2 separate regions of the Homo sapiens genome follow, and region 1 is linked to region 2. The links are contacts of gene promoters, found by promoter capture Hi-C in blood cells and fetal thymus (Javierre and others, 2016). All regions are on one chromosome and are shown on one strand. Each heading gives the region's core, a stretch centred on a gene start or on the middle of the fragment in contact. The rest is flanking DNA. Distances are from core to core; before and after follow the strand shown. Region 1 overlaps NGRN (neugrin, neurite outgrowth associated). Region 2 holds the start of CRTC3 (CREB regulated transcription coactivator 3).

Region 1 (5,422 bases), core at 1,653-4,152, 260 kb before region 2:
CCAATTCCCAGGGCTCAAGCGATCATCCCACCTCAGCCTCCTAAAGTGTTGGGATTACAGGCATGAGCCACTGTGTGCAGCTGTACTATTTTTAATAGTTTTTCTCTACCAAAAACTAGGCTCTGTGCCCTGAGTGAGCCACTGCGCCTGGCCCTCAATTCTTTTTTTATAGATGGTGTTATTATATTTTTTTGAGGCAGTATATGAGGCAGTATATGACAGTGGTTTTTAATTTTTATTTAAACAATTTTTTCTCCTATTTATTTATTTGACAGAGATGGGGGTCTCACTATGATGACCAGGCTGGTCTCAAACTTCTGGCCTCAACTGATCTTCCCATCTCGGCCTCCCAAAGTGCTGGGATTAGAGGCGTAAGCCACCATGCCTGGCCAGAATGCATTATTTAACCTGTCTTTTATTGTGGGCATTTAGTTGGGTTGTTTCCATTTCTGTTGCTCACTAATAGTGCCCCAGTGAATAACTACGTATGTGTATCATTCTGCATACCTGCCAGGAATATTTGTTATATACATTCCCAGAAGTAAGGTTGCCAGGTCAAAAGACAAATGCATTTGCAATTTGATAAATATTGCTAAGTAGCCCTACATAGATTATGTACTATTTTTCATTTCCATCAGAATGACTCTGGAATTGAAATTTAAAATAAAGGGGATTCTGTAGAGCTGCTCAAGATTTTGTGAGCCTGTAGCACCTTCTGAGTCCTCAGTCAGGTCTAGCTCCTCTTTTTTTCGTTTGTTTGTTTGTTTTTTGTTTGAGGCAGTCTCACTCTGTCGCCCAGGCCAGAGTGCAGTGGCGAAATCTCAGCTCACTGCAGCCTCTGCCTCCAGGTTCAAGAGATTCTTGGACCTCAGCCTCCCAAGTAGCTGGGATTACAGGCGTGCACCACCACACCTGGCTAATTTTTGTATTTTTAGTAGAGACAGAGTTTCACCATGTTGGCCAGGCTGGTCTCAAACCCCTGACCTCAGGTGATCCACCCACCTCGGCCTCCCAAAGTGCTGGGATTACAGGCATGAGCCACCATGCCGGCCTCTATCTCCTGTCTTCAACAATAGCTTTTTCAAACCTTCCACCTTCCTACTTATCTCCCTTTATTGTGGTCAATAAATGTCCTTTTAAGAGGAAAAAAAAAAAACAGTCCATTAAGTAAAAACTTTCAGCTTCCTGGTCTTCCTCTTTGCCCACTACTCTCAAACTTATACTCTACTCCCATTTCAGAGGAAATGGGAGCCCTTCACTTGTCTGGGACCAATTCTCTGTATGCTTTAGGTCATATTTCTCCCTGCATAAGATTACTCAAGGACCTCTGTCCTCAACCTAAAGCTCTCTCTCATTCTTTTGTTCCCAGCTGGTTCCCAGGGTGCCTACCCTTTGTTTGTTTGTATCACTGCAATAAAACTGCTCTCCTTAAATCCATCAGTGACTTCCTCAGTGCTAGGCTCAAAAAGACACTTTGTAGTCCTTAGCGTCCTAAATAATTCAGCAGCATTTGCCCTTGTAAAAACTGCCTTTTAAATTAAAATATATATATATATTTTAAATAAAGACAGGATTTTGCCATGTTGCCCAACCTGGTCTCCAGTTTCTGAGCTCAAGCGATCTGCCTGCCTTGGCCTCCCAAAGTGTTAGGATTACAGGTGTGAGCTACTGCACCCAGCTGAAACTGCTTTCTCCCACCCCCCCCCCCCCATTATTTATTTATTGATTGACACTGATTCTCTCTTTTTTTTTTTTTTTTTTTTTTGAGACGGAGTCTCATTCTGCTGCCAGGCTGGAGTGCAGTGGCATGATCTTGGCTCACTGCAACCTCTGCCTCCTGGGTTCAAGTGATTGTCGTGCCTCAGCCTTCCAAGTAGATGGAATTACAGGTGCACACCACTATACCTGGCTAATTTTTTTTTTTTTTTTTTTTTTTTTGGATTTTTAGTAGAGGTTGGGTTCAGCGTGTTGGCCAGGCTGGTCTTGAACTCCTGACCTCAAGTGATCTGCCTGCCTTAGCCTCCCAAAAGTGCTGGGATTACAGGCGGGCGTGAGCCACCATACCCAGCCTTTTTTTATTTTTATTATTTTAATTTTACTTTAAGTTCTGGGGTACATGTGCAGAATGTGCAGGTTTGTTATATAGGTGTACATGTGCCATGGTGAACTGCTTTCTTAAAATTCTCTTCTCCCTTGACTCCAGGGTACCATTCCCTTCTGATCTTTTTTTCTTTGTTTCTAGGGCTGCTTTTCTCAGTTTCCTTCCTGGGCTCCTCTTCTACCTCCTATATCTTAAATATTGTTATTTCATAGAGTTCTGTCCTTGTCATTTTAGTTCACTCTGCATATTTCCCTGCCTGATGCTAGCCACTCAGTCACCCCTGCTATTGGCTTATGACTTCCAAATCTGTCATCTCCAGTTCATGTTTTTTTTCCTGAAATCTAAAGGCATATATTCAACTGTGTACCAGACATCTCTGTTTTGGATATCACAGTTTCCTCAAACTCAGCATGTACAAAATAGAATTCATCGTTGTTCCCTGACAACTTCATTCTGTTCCTGTTTTTCCTATAACCTACTGATTACCCAAGCTAAAATCCTGCATCTTGGCCTTGATGATGCTTCCCCCAATATTTAGTCCCTTAGTACCAAGTTGTACTATTTGACTTTCTTAAAATATTTCTCAACTCACTTTCCTCCTATGCTCCATTGACTGTCTCACTCGAGACTATCTGGATTACTGTAAAAGCCTCTTGACCAATCTTTCTGCCTATACTTTTGTCACTGAAAAACTACCACTAGGTTGAATTCCTTTTTTTCTTTTTTTAATAGAGATGGGATCTCCCTGTTTCCCAGGCTGGTCTCGAACTCCTGGGCTCAAGCAATCCTCCTGCCTCAGCCTCTCAAAGTGCTGGGAGTGAGCCATTGTGCCAGGCTGTAGGTTGAACTTCAAAATGAAAATTTATCTGTGGCATTCCACTGCTTAAAATTTTTCCTTGACTTGCTGTTGCCTTGGGATAAACTCCAGACCCCTAAGTGTGATCTACTTCTTACCCTCACTGTCAGTTGAGTTATTCCCAACAAAGGTGATGTGCCGCTTTACATTTCACAAGCTCTTCACTTTATCATCAGTATCTTTCATCTCTCCTTCTCTCCTCCCTTCTGCCAGCTTATTACTCCTTTCATCCTTTCAGACCAACTCTAGCTTGGACTTCATGAAGCAATTCCTGGGCCTGGCTATAAGTGTTCTTATTCCCTATATCTGGGTCTCCCTCCTGGGGTGCTGTCTTTGCATCCTGTGCTATAACCTTTACCATAATGTCATTTATTTTGTCTGTCCCCACTCCCAAACTATGTAATGGGAAGGTCAGTCCTCCTGCGTCCCCAGGATCTATTGTGGTATTAGATGTCAGTGAGAGGAGCTGAGTTGATGTGAAATGAAGTGACCTGACTGACAGTGGTCAGGTGTTGCTGTTGACACACAGAAATGGAACACAGCCATTTAACTAGCACAAGATAGGGACTAGCACAAGATTTAGCTAGCACAAGATAGGGACTACATTTGCGGTTTTTCAAGCTCTCTTTTTTTGTTTTTTTGGGAGAGTCTCACTCTGTTGCCCAGGCTGGAGTGCAGTGGTGCAGTGGTGCAATCTCGGCTCACCGCAGCCTTCACCTCCCAGGTTCAAGTGATTCTTGTGCCACGTGGTAGCTCATGCCTGTAATCCCAGCTACTTCGGAGGCTCAGGCACAAGAATCACTGGTCTCGAACTCCTGGGCTCAAGTGATCCGCCTATCTCGGCCTCTCAGAGTTCTGGGATTACAGGTGTGAGCCACCATGCCAGGCCTCAACCCCTCTTCTTTATCATAGGTATTGCGAGTTAGATGTTCTGATAGGAGACTTCTTCACAACTTGCAAACCTGCTCCTTCTTCCCGTAGGTATTTACATGAGGAATTTCCAGAGTCCTGGTCAGTTCCCAGGTTGGCTGAAGGCTTTGATGTCAGCACTGATGTGATCCGAAGAGTTTTAAAAAGCAAGTTTTTACCCACATTGGAGCAGAAGCTGAAGCAGGATCAAAAAGTCCTTAAGAAAGCTGGGCTTGCCCACTCGCTGCAGCACCTCCGGGGCTCTGGAAATACCTCAAAGCTGCTCCCTGCAGGCCACTCTGTATCAGGCTCTTTGCTTATGCCAGGGCATGAAGCCTCATCTAAAGACCCAAATCACAGCACAGCTTTGAAAGTGATAGAGTCAGACACTCACAGGACAAATACACCAAGGAGAAGGAAGGGAAGAAATAAAGAAATCCAGGACCTGGAGGAGAGCTTTGTGCCTGTTGCTGCACCCCTAGGTCATCCAAGAGAGCTGCAGAAGTACTCCAGTGATTCTGAGAGCCCCAGAGGAACTGGCAGTGGTGCGTTGCCAAGTGGTCAGAAGCTGGAGGAGTTGAAGGCAGAGGAGCCAGATAACTTCAGCAGCAAAGTAGTGCAGAGGGGCCGAGAGTTCTTTGACAGCAACGGGAACTTCCTGTACAGAATTTGAGTCGGGGCTTGGCTTATGGAGATGCCTCGTGAAACACAGCTGGGCAAGTATTAATGTATATGGAACAGCCTGGATTTCTGCATATGGATAAGCCACCTTGGAATAGGAAGAGGTGTTGAGCCTGGACTGTGGGAGGAAAGAGCTGCGTGGATAGATTCAAACTTCCTGTGGTAGTGCTCCCAGTCTGACCTCTGTAGACCTTCAGTACTCACTCTTCTTGCTTAGGCTCTCTGTGTGTTGAAAGCCATCCCGTGTTGCATGTGTTGTTACAATTTTCTGTGATACTTGCAATTTATGTTTGAGAAGAAGTGAAAAGTTTGCCTTCTGACCTCATTTCCTTCTTGATCAGTGAACACTAACATTTTGGGGACAACTTAGTCAATTGGTTTTCCTTACAACAAAATAAAGTAAAATGTAGCAGTCTGCCTCTTTGGTGCTCTTTGGGGTGGGATGGTTTACCTGTGAACCTTGGAGAGAGGGAAGGACAAAGGCAGAAAGGAAGGATCCCTGGTCAGTAAACATTGGGAGAGAGATGGAACCAGAGGAATTTCCCAGCAAAGGGCTCTGTGCAGAGCATCCTGCTTAGTGAGGGATTCTGACAACTGAAAACTGGACGCCTTTCTTTTAGTTGCTGGGGTTCTGGCAGAGATTGGGAAATGAGGGGTTGGCAGAAAATACAAAGCAGGCAAAGGCTTTAGGGCCCTTATAATCTCCAGCCACATTTTAAAGTTTATATTAAGAGCTGGGCATGGCAGAATGTGCCTACAGTCCCAGTTACTTGGGAGGCCGAGGTGGGAGAATCGCTTGAGCCTCGGAGGTTGAGGCTGCAGTGAGCTATGATTGCACCACTGCACTCCAGCCTGGGATAACAGTGAGACCCCCA
Region 2 (4,876 bases), core at 512-3,011:
TGAGATCAGGCCACTGCACTCCAGCCTGGGTAACAGAGCAAGACTCCGTCTCAAAAACAAACCAACAACAAAAAAAAAGCATGGTAAATAACACAAAATACAACAGAAAAAAAAATCCAATTATAATTAATAAAAATAGCTAAATTCTAGCTAACAGAGATATATTTTCAGAATACATTTTCTAAAAAGTCCAGTTATAGGCTATGTCTGAGAGACAGGTGAAAAACATAATGGAATATTATCATATAAATGAATTGACACAAATATATCTCGAAAACATAATGGAGAATGAAAAAAGATGCAAAATGATTATTCAGTATGGTGTCATTTTTGTAAAGTTTAAAAACAAAATTAGGTATTCCATATAGCATTGCTGGATCTCTACATCATATGTAATAAAAGTATAAAAACACAAACTGGAATGATATGTACCAACTTGAGCACGGTGACTATCTGTGGGGCGGAAGAAGAAATGAGAGTGGGGCCGTCGTTATGACTAATTTTGTATGTCTTTAATAAATCCCAAGTACATGCAGCAAAATGTATTGATGTCTGTTTAATCTTGATAGTGGGGGGCGTGGGTAGTATTAATATTATTTTCCGTACTCTTCCGTAGGCCTCTAATATTTCCCTCTTTACAGAACACTGACACACGCTCAGGGCTCCCCGGGACATCTTTGTGCACATCAACATTTATGCTGAGAGTAGCTTCTGGACTCCAAAGAGGAAACTCCCCGGGCACTGTGGCCCACGCCTGTTATCCCAGCACTTTGGGAGGCTGAGGTGGGCAGATCGCTTGAGCCCAGGCGTTCGAGACCAGCCTGGGCAAAATAGCGAGACCCACCCCCGCCCCCCATTGCTACAAAAACATTTACAAACTAGCCGGGCGTGGTGACCCCCGCCTGTGGTCCCAGCTGGTCGGGAGGCTGAGGTGGGAGGATCTTTTGAGCCCGGGAGGTCAAGGCCGCGGTGAGTCGAGATCGCACCACTACACTCCAGACCGGGCGACAGAGAAAGACATCCATTCACTCCCCCAAAAGAAGGGGAAATTCGCTGAGGCTGAGCGCTGGTTTCCCAAGGTGGGGCTGGCACCTGCTGAAGCTGCCACAGGAGTGGAGAGGCCGTAGGGAGACTTGGAAAGAACCTGGAAAGGGGGCCGGGGCTATGGAGCCAAGGCTGCAGCAGGGCTGGATGGTGTTTGTAGTTTGTGCAGAATAGGAGGCAGTTTTTAAAGCCGAGATACAGCTCTGGTTGACTGGAGCGGGGAGGGGTGGGTGTGAGAGGTCAGGAAACCAGCGGCTGGAGGCCGGGGGCCTGGAGCGGCAGGGCTGGCGGGCAGACGTTAGGCCCCAGGCAAAATGGGCGCACCCCCTGCGGGGGCCCGAGGTGACCTGCTCGAGGTCCGGTCGCCCAGGTTCCACCTGGAGAAGAAAATCTTCGTAATTTGGCTGGGGGAGGGGGGATGCGGGCACAGGCTGTGTTCTCCACGTCGCGTAGACGCAGAGGCCATCCCTGGGTCGGAGAGTCTCCGTGGAGTGGCACCCCAGCGTTCCCCGTACGCCGGGGCCACTTTGTCGGGCTGACGGGGGTCCCTCCAGGTGGCCGCCGGCGGCGGGTCCCGAGCCAGACCGGGAAGCGGGGAGCAGCCCTCAGCCCGCGAGCGTGGGGCCGGGGCAGACTGGAGGCCGGGCGGGCCCCGCCGAGGGTGGGGCGGGGCCGGGCGCACGGGGGCGGACCTCGGCGCGCTCCCGGCCGCTCGCTGGCTCCGGGGCCGCGGCGGCTCCTCTGCCGGGTCGCGCCGGACGACTGGCTTCGGGCGGCGGCCCCGGCGGCCTGTGGACGGACGGGTGGGCCGAGGTACAGGCCCCACGGCCGCCGTCTCCCGCTTCTGCCCGCGCAGAGTCCGCGCCATGGCCGCCTCGCCGGGCTCGGGCAGCGCCAACCCGCGGAAGTTCAGTGAGAAGATCGCGCTGCACACGCAGAGACAGGCCGAGGAGACGCGGGCCTTCGAGCAGCTCATGACCGACCTCACCCTGTCGCGGGTGAGGGCCCGGGCCGGCGCGGGCGGGGGCGGCCACGGCCGCGGGCGGGACCCGCGCGGCGGGTGAGAGGTTGCGGGGCCAAGGCGATGGCGGGGCCGGGCGGGGGCCGCGCCCGGGAACCGGCGGCTGGGAGGGGGACCGGAGCGGCCGCGGCCTCGGCGTTTCCCCGCCTGGCGACACCCGCTAGCCGTTCGCGATCCCGGGCTGAGGTGGGAGGGTCGCCCGGCCCCGTGTGCGGGAAGATGGGCAGGGGTGAAGCCCGTGGAGGCGGGCGGCCGTGCGAGGGCGGCCTGAGGGGGAGGAGGACGAGGAGCCCCGAGAGGAAATCGCAAACAGCTCGGAGGCCGGCCGGGTGGCGCGGCGCGGCTTCTGGTCGCTCCGAACATCCCCCACCATCGAGCCCTGCTGTTCTGCCGGCGTGGAAGGCCGCGGGCACCCCAGGGTCCCACGCGCTCGTGGGGGGAGCTCTGTGCACAAGTCCATCCAGGGCCCGGCCCTGGGGTGGCTCGGGTTGTTGGAACCACGACGGGATTCCGTGTCGAGTGTGAGGCTCTGCTCCTTTTACTCCTTGGAGGTGCTTTATCGGGTCCAGTTTACTTTGTTCGGCCCGGGATATTTAGTGAGAACTGACAAGCGTCGCTGGTGACTGGAGAGGGACCTGGAGGAATGAGTAAGGCGCGAGCCGGGACAAACACCTGGAGAGGTTAGGTAACCGCTGAGTGAGGCAGTGGAGGATGGAGAGCCAACCGGAGTGTCCGCGCAGGGTTGCAGAGAAGGGGGGTCAGCAGGAGTGGGGCTGGCCTTGAGGATCCTGAATGCTGACCTTGGAGGACCATCGGGAGGATGGGGGAGGATCTGCAGATTCTGGGGGACTGAGGCGGGGGAGACAGTTTGAAGGAGAGCTGAGAGCAGAGTTGCAAACCAGCTGAGTTGCAGACACATTATTTTTTGGCCAGCGCAGTGTTTGGGAAAAATTATTGAATCTGTTGCCAGAATTTTTAAATTGGAAGACTTCCACACAAAATCCAAATTTCCGTATTATTTATTTATTATTATTTATATATGTTAAAAATTGGGAGACCTGGTAACACTAATTCTGAATTCCTACATGACAGCTACCGACCTGCTGGAGCTGGGTGATGATGAAAGGGAGCTGAGCTGAGCTCCCTTTCAAATGGAGTAAGAACTCTAGTTTGCCACCGTCCACTCTCTGTCACAGTCCCCCAAGGGGAGATTAGGTGACAGTTGCCATTTATACTCATGATGGTGTTTTCTTTCAGTGAAGTTAAGGAAAAAGTGAAATATTTCCTGTACTTACATTTCTGTTCACATTGAGAAAAAATATATATATAGAGAGAAAGAAGCTGAAGATTTCAAGAAAATGTTTTCTTATACCCTATCAGCTTCACTCATTTTTTACCTGCCTGGCATCCACTGGCATTTACATCTGTGACCTTGGTTAGATTCAGAGATGAACTCGATAAGCTCAGAGCACGTTGAAAAGAATGGGTGGGTGAAAGCTGAGGATTAGTGTTGGGGCCTGTGTTGTTATGTGTTTTTAAATACATACTGTACATTGTTTATGTACAAATACATGCACTGTATATGTCTGTATACCTATGGCGGATCCAATCTTTCACCCAATTCATGAATCTTCTTTAAAATATCCCTGACAGGTGAGGCCATGAGTAATGTACAGACTCTCTTTTAAAAGCAAAAATTTTTCACAGATCCTCACTGTTTACTTACTTTCAAGTAAAAAAAAAGTGTTTACTTACTTTAGAGACCCTGCTATAGCTCAGGGTCTCTTGAATTTAGCAAGCCTAATCAACTGTGGCCCATATGATAATTCAGTCACCACTTTATTCTAATTACTACAAAATTATGGTGTCATTTTGCCCTTCACCTGGTACAGGGAATCATTTACATATTAATTCTGCCCGTGTTTTCTTCTTGGCCAGTTACCAGTAAAGTAACACTGCTTGGCTCCACCGTGTTCATAAACACATCTGTAAATGATAACACTGAATTTGGCTACTAATGTTTGCTTATTTAAAAATCTTAAGGGTTATTTTCATGAAGAAATCACAAAATTAGAACACTTCTCATAGAGAACTCTTAGATTCCCAGCATGTCTATGAAGAATGCGTCTCTAAGGATCCAAAGATCCCAGTTGGAGGAGTATCTGCCTAGTTCATAATTGGTAACTGGGTGGCAGATATACTGACTTTTCATTACTAGCCCATGACAGACATGCTAATTCCTGACTTTTCATTACTAGCCCATGACAGACATGCTAATCGATAGGGCAGACATTACTGATCTATCTAGATGCTCTTTCCCCTCTGAGCCTGTGTTGGGATTCAAGTTCTTCTCTACATGATCAAAGCAATCCTTCAGAGTTGGCCTTACTTACCTATTCACCTAGGCGTTACTTATCCTATTCACCTAGTGGGTAGGATAGACTAGACTGTAGAGGATTTTCTCTAGCTTTAGAAGTCCGGCATTATCAGGAAGCAGTGGGAAAATTTTGAGAAGGGAGTACTAGGAGGAGGAGTTGAGTGGTGGTACCTGGAATGGTAAAGAGAGGGAGGAAAGTGGGGTCGGGCGTGGTGGTTCACGCCTGTAATCCCAGCACTTTGGGAGGCTGAGGCGGGCAGATCACGAGGTCAAGAGATCGAGACCATCCTGGCCAACATGGCGAAACCCCGTTTCTACTAAAAGTACAAAAATTAGCCTGGCATGGTGGCGTGCGCCTGTAGTTCCAGCTACTCGGGAGGCTGAGGCAGGAGAATCGCTCGAACCCAGGAGGTGGAGGTTGCAGTGAGCCGGGA

What was found. Contacts are between HindIII fragments. The CHiCAGO score rates a contact against its expected background, and 5 or more counts as called.
Region 1: a contact is called between a fragment that was not itself captured here and the fragment with the promoter of CRTC3 in region 2, in 1 of 17 cell types (activated CD4 T cells). The highest score is 5.3, in activated CD4 T cells.

What each region holds. Positions count from the first base shown.
Region 1 is chr15:90,267,250-90,272,671 of GRCh38, forward strand. NGRN (neugrin, neurite outgrowth associated) reads left to right here. Exons shown (of 3, transcript NM_001033088.3): 3 at 3,939-4,962. The coding sequence ends at 4,539. Among named protein-coding and RNA genes, the nearest start is that of NGRN, 4.3 kb to the left of the region's middle. The HindIII fragment of the contact is 6,495 bases long and covers 1-5,422 here.
Region 2 is chr15:90,528,162-90,533,037 of GRCh38, forward strand. It overlaps CRTC3 (CREB regulated transcription coactivator 3), which reads left to right and starts at 1,762. Exons shown (of 15, transcript NM_022769.5): 1 at 1,762-2,042. The coding sequence starts at 1,911. RefSeq lists silencers at 1,216-1,265, 1,366-2,115, 2,136-2,315 and an enhancer at 2,706-2,865. The HindIII fragment of the contact is 15,096 bases long and covers 1-4,876 here.